Linked DNA regions of Homo sapiens: region 2 is linked to region 1. Evidence: promoter capture Hi-C in 16 types of primary human blood cells and fetal thymus (Javierre and others, 2016). All regions are on one chromosome and are shown on one strand. Each heading gives the region's core, a stretch centred on a gene start or on the middle of the fragment in contact. The rest is flanking DNA. Distances are from core to core; before and after follow the strand shown.

The links. Contacts are between HindIII fragments. The CHiCAGO score rates a contact against its expected background, and 5 or more counts as called.
Region 2: a contact is called between a fragment that was not itself captured here and the fragment with the promoter of EEF1A1 in region 1, in 1 of 17 cell types (non-activated CD4 T cells). The highest score is 6.4, in non-activated CD4 T cells.

Annotation. Positions count from the first base shown.
Region 1 is chr6:73,519,693-73,522,392 of GRCh38, forward strand. EEF1A1 (eukaryotic translation elongation factor 1 alpha 1) reads right to left here and starts at 1,340. Exons shown (of 8, transcript NM_001402.6): 1 at 1,308-1,340; 2 at 191-364. The coding sequence starts at 334. RefSeq lists enhancers at 1-500, 458-757, 501-1,322, 1,048-1,157, 1,208-1,287 and 1 more and a silencer at 1,868-2,097. The HindIII fragment of the contact is 5,848 bases long and covers 1-2,700 here.
Region 2 is chr6:70,663,195-70,665,894 of GRCh38, forward strand. It overlaps the pseudogene SLC25A6P6. Among named protein-coding and RNA genes, the nearest start is that of SMAP1, 3.3 kb to the right of the region's middle. The HindIII fragment of the contact is 249 bases long and covers 1,234-1,482 here.

The DNA.
Region 1 (2,700 bases), core at 90-2,589:
TATTAACATCCAAATCTACTCACTAGCAATACGATTACAGAAGTCACCAAAAGCAAAATTATTTCATAAGTAAGGTCTTAACTATTAGCATTCAGATCTAAACCACTCACTAGTTCTGGGGAAATCACCTAATGATTCTGCTGGTAAAACTCATTTTAGTTGATCTTTCCCTTTCTGGTATTAAACATACCTCAGCAGCCTCCTTCTCAAATTTTTCAATGGTTCTTTTGTCGATGCCACCGCATTTATAGATCAGATGGCCAGTAGTGGTGGACTTGCCCGAATCTACGTGTCCAATGACGACAATGTTGATATGAGTCTTTTCCTTTCCCATTTTGGCTTTTAGGGGTAGTTTTCACGACACCTGAAATGGAAGAAAAAAACTTTGAACCACTGTCTGAGGCTTGAGAATGAACCAAGATCCAAACTCAAAAAGGGCAAATTCCAAGGAGAATTACATCAAGTGCCAAGCTGGCCTAACTTCAGTCTCCACCCACTCAGTGTGGGGAAACTCCATCGCATAAAACCCCTCCCCCCAACCTAAAGACGACGTACTCCAAAAGCTCGAGAACTAATCGAGGTGCCTGGACGGCGCCCGGTACTCCGTGGAGTCACATGAAGCGACGGCTGAGGACGGAAAGGCCCTTTTCCTTTGTGTGGGTGACTCACCCGCCCGCTCTCCCGAGCGCCGCGTCCTCCATTTTGAGCTCCCTGCAGCAGGGCCGGGAAGCGGCCATCTTTCCGCTCACGCAACTGGTGCCGACCGGGCCAGCCTTGCCGCCCAGGGCGGGGCGATACACGGCGGCGCGAGGCCAGGCACCAGAGCAGGCCGGCCAGCTTGAGACTACCCCCGTCCGATTCTCGGTGGCCGCGCTCGCAGGCCCCGCCTCGCCGAACATGTGCGCTGGGACGCACGGGCCCCGTCGCCGCCCGCGGCCCCAAAAACCGAAATACCAGTGTGCAGATCTTGGCCCGCATTTACAAGACTATCTTGCCAGAAAAAAAGCGTCGCAGCAGGTCATCAAAAATTTTAAATGGCTAGAGACTTATCGAAAGCAGCGAGACAGGCGCGAAGGTGCCACCAGATTCGCACGCGGCGGCCCCAGCGCCCAAGCCAGGCCTCAACTCAAGCACGAGGCGAAGGGGCTCCTTAAGCGCAAGGCCTCGAACTCTCCCACCCACTTCCAACCCGAAGCTCGGGATCAAGAATCACGTACTGCAGCCAGGGGCGTGGAAGTAATTCAAGGCACGCAAGGGCCATAACCCGTAAAGAGGCCAGGCCCGCGGGAACCACACACGGCACTTACCTGTGTTCTGGCGGCAAACCCGTTGCGAAAAAGAACGTTCACGGCGACTACTGCACTTATATACGGTTCTCCCCCACCCTCGGGAAAAAGGCGGAGCCAGTACACGACATCACTTTCCCAGTTTACCCCGCGCCACCTTCTCTAGGCACCGGTTCAATTGCCGACCCCTCCCCCCAACTTCTCGGGGACTGTGGGCGATGTGCGCTCTGCCCACTGACGGGCACCGGAGCCTCACGCATGCTCTTCTCCACCTCAGTGATGACGAGAGCGGGCGGGTGAGGGGGCGGGAACGCAGCGATCTCTGGGTTCTACGTTAGTGGGAGTTTAACGACGGTCCCTGGGATTCCCCAAGGCAGGGGCGAGTCCTTTTGTATGAATTACTCTCAGCTCCGGTCGGGGCGGGTTGGGGGGGGTGGTGACGGGGAGGCCGCCTGGAAGGGACGTGCAGAATCTTCCCTCTACCATTGCTGGCTTAGCTCCAAAGGTTGTATTGAGATTAGGGTGTACCTTCGCCTCTCAATCAGCCTCCCGTCCTCAGCCTTGCCATCTCGCTAGTCCGGGACAAATCCCTAGAGCGTCTTCCTCTGCGGGTCTCAGCCCAGCCCGGGGTTGGCTCCTCCTCCGCCCCGGCTTCCGCGCCCCTCCCGTGTGGCAAGGAGTACCAGGCCCGGGGACCCCGAGGGGCTTGGGGCGAAGGGTCGGGACTGGGGGCCTCCTTAACGGCTCACGGACTTGCGAGAGGTTCGGCTCGATGGCCGTGAAAGCGACGAATCCGCTCCTGTGCTGGCCTCTTGGCTCCTTCCATTCAAAGCCAGCTGCTTTTATGGAAGCCCGTAACACGTCATCTCCCCCTGGTACTCCAGATGTCCAGGCTTTCAGTTTAGAATAGACTCAGTCCTACAGTTAGCTTTAGATCTAATTCTAGTTTTGTTACGCCAAAAAGTTCCTGCGAGTGTGTGTGTGTGCCTCATGGTACTTTTTAAATTAAAAGGTGTACAGTTATTTGATTGCAAACATAAGGAACCTAAAATGCTTTCAGATTTTCCACATGATCTCATGTAGAGGCTAAGATCTACAGCATCAGCAAGTTTATCCACCCAGTTTCCTAACCCCAACACTTGCTATGAAGTCACAGCTTCTCCTATTTAAATAAGTGCCTATTATATTTAAATAAGTGCTGTCGTTTTCTGTCATCCTATCGATTGTAACTGCATTTTAGCATAAATCTAGGGCAAGATTGGATGAGCTTGGCCTTTTTGGATGGCTATCAAGGCAGGCCTTGGGAAATGCTCCTCTGAGGAAAGAAGAACGTTTATTTTTAATGAGCTAATTACTAGATCATTATGTTTCTTCTTCCAGCTGTAGAATATCATTGCCCAGCTTCTCGAACAAA
Region 2 (2,700 bases), core at 108-2,607, 2.9 Mb before region 1:
ATAAATATTTAAACACAACTTGGGTTCTACAAGTGCCTGGACTACAGGTCTGTTTGAAGGAGCTGCCTTGTTTGTTGACCCATGGTGATGTCATAATTATCGCCAGTAATCAATGCGTGGATTCAGGGTGCCAATGGTTGAATATGATCATGGTGAACCCCTTTTCTAAAGCCTTCTCTAGTCCTCTACAGAGGTACTATGGCCAGGACCAAGAAAATGAAATTTCTCAAAGGTCAGTGGTCCATAACAGTTAAGTATGCTACATGATTCTCTTGGTTTTCATTTCTAGTGAGGAAACACACTTACTCTTCTTCAATTCCACATACAGGACAGGCCTAAAAGCTCCTCCCATATCTCTGAGAACATTAGACCATGCACTCTTGAAGAAGGCTTTCCCTTTTCCTCCTTAAAAATCTTCCTCCAGCAATTGAGGGTTCCCATGTGCAGTATGTTGGCTCCTTTGGGTCTGCACAGGGCCCAATGGGTAGAAGGTCATGTTGGCCGCACCACCACAGTCTGGGCAATCATCTGGCTCACCATGATGTGGTGGTCTTGGAGTCAGGGAGCATGCCTTAGGCCTTCAGGCTGCCCAGAAAAGGATGATGCCCTGCACAGAGATGCTGAAGCCCTGGTACAGGCCCCAGATCCCATCAGACTTACTTATCTTCACCAGACAGTCTCCTAGGTCTTTGAACCTGAATCCCAGCTCTGTGTACGATTTCCCAACATTGACCACCAGATGGGTTCTGGCAAAACCCAGCAAGTACACAAAACAGAGACAGGTGGCTCTGGCCGCCTTGTTGGAGGCCAGATTGTGGGCAAAACAGCTCTAGAACTGTGTGTGTTCATCCATACTCCCAGGAATAGCTGTGTCTGCTTATCCTTGAATGTGATGTTGAGGGCTTGCTTAAGAAAGTAGTCCACAATTCCTGTGCACTGCTGTCAGCTGTCACCTGCTTCCTAGCGCCTTGCATCTGCTACAGCAGCTTCACCTGCTCAATCAGGGCCACAACTATCTTGGCGACAGCAGCAGCAATGCCACCAGCCAGATGGTCCTTGGCAAAGGAGATCGCCTGTTGTGTCATGGTTGCAGAGCAGGAAGCTGAGCACATGGAGAACTGGGAGGATTAGTGCTGCTGGCTCAGCCCTGTGACTGCTGGACCTAGAGGCCTACCTCTTCTATTCTTGATCTGGGTTAACGGCATTACCATTTACCTTTCTCCCAACTTAGAAAGCTTGATGTTATTCTCACCTTCTTTCTCTTGCCCTCCACATACAGTCAGCTGCCAAATCTTGCTGCTTCTAATTTTAAACCATCATTTGATTCTGTCTCTCCCAAACCCTACGCTACTTGCTTAAAATAGGCCTTCATCATATCTTCTTTGGACTATTATTGAGACAGGCCTGTAATCTGTTCCCTTGATAAGTTTTTCCCCACCATGTTCTCCATACTGCCACTGTATGGAGAGTTACTGAGAAGAAAGCTTATCAAGCCATTTTTCCGTGTAAAAGCTTCTATTGGTTCTATAAACCCATGAGGTTCAAACTCTGTTGCTTGGCTACAAAGCTCTTAACCCTCTGGTGGCAATCTACCTCTCCATCTTGTTTCCTTTCCTACCTTCATGTTCTCCAAACACATTCTAGGTTTCTTGGGCCTCATATCCTCACTATGTCTAGCATATAACCCTGAACTTTCAGAAGTCCATACGTGTTTTTTAAAGCAATTCCTTTCTCTCCGCTCCACCCCCATTCACTTGAAAAATTCCCCCATCTGTTAAAAGCCAAGTTTAAGCATCACCTCCTCCGTGAAACTTTCCCAGATTTTCCCAGGCTACTGGATGTTCTGTTCCTTTTGCTCCGAGAACACTTTATAATTGCTATAAACTTTACAGTGTAGTCCTTTTCTATTTACATATTTGTAGCTCATAGTAGACTGTAAGCTTCTGATTATTAGTGTACTAGATAGAAGTTGTTTGATAAATACTGGTGAATAAATGCAATGTTGTTTTCTTCCCAGGATGTTTTGGGGACCAGTCTCTTTCTTCCTACTATAGTCTTAAAATACAATCAACTCAAATTTATATTTTAATAGCCTCTAAGCTGACCATCTAGAACCACACTATTCAATAATGTATCCACTAGTCACATGTGGCTGCTGAACATTTGAAATTCATCTACTCCAGGCTGGGCGCAGTGCCTCACACCTGTAATCCCAGCACTTTGGGAGGCCAAGGTGGGAGGATAGCTTGAGGCTAGGAGTTCAAGACCATGCTGGCCCACATAGTGAGACCCCATGGACCAGCAGGGTCTCGAACTCCTAGGCTCAATTTTTTGATAATTTCTTTATTAAAAAATAAATTCAGCCACTCCAAAATGAAATGAGCTGTGTTATACAGCATTTTGAAGAGAATATGAAAACAAGAATGGAAAGAAAATATGCCATGTTTTATATTACATCTCAAAAATATTTTGGATACATTGAGTTAAATCAAATGTATTAGTAAAATGTATTTTATGTTTCTTTTTCTGTTTTTAAATGTGGCTACTGCATTATTTAAAGTTATACGTGTGGCACGCAAGTATTTGTACTGGACATTGCTGTGACCCTTCAATCCATCCTGAAGGTTGTTTTTTGGTGGTAAACCTGTATTCTGTTTTTCTGAGTCCTCACAGTGCTGAACAGAATTTTTGTAGGGAGGA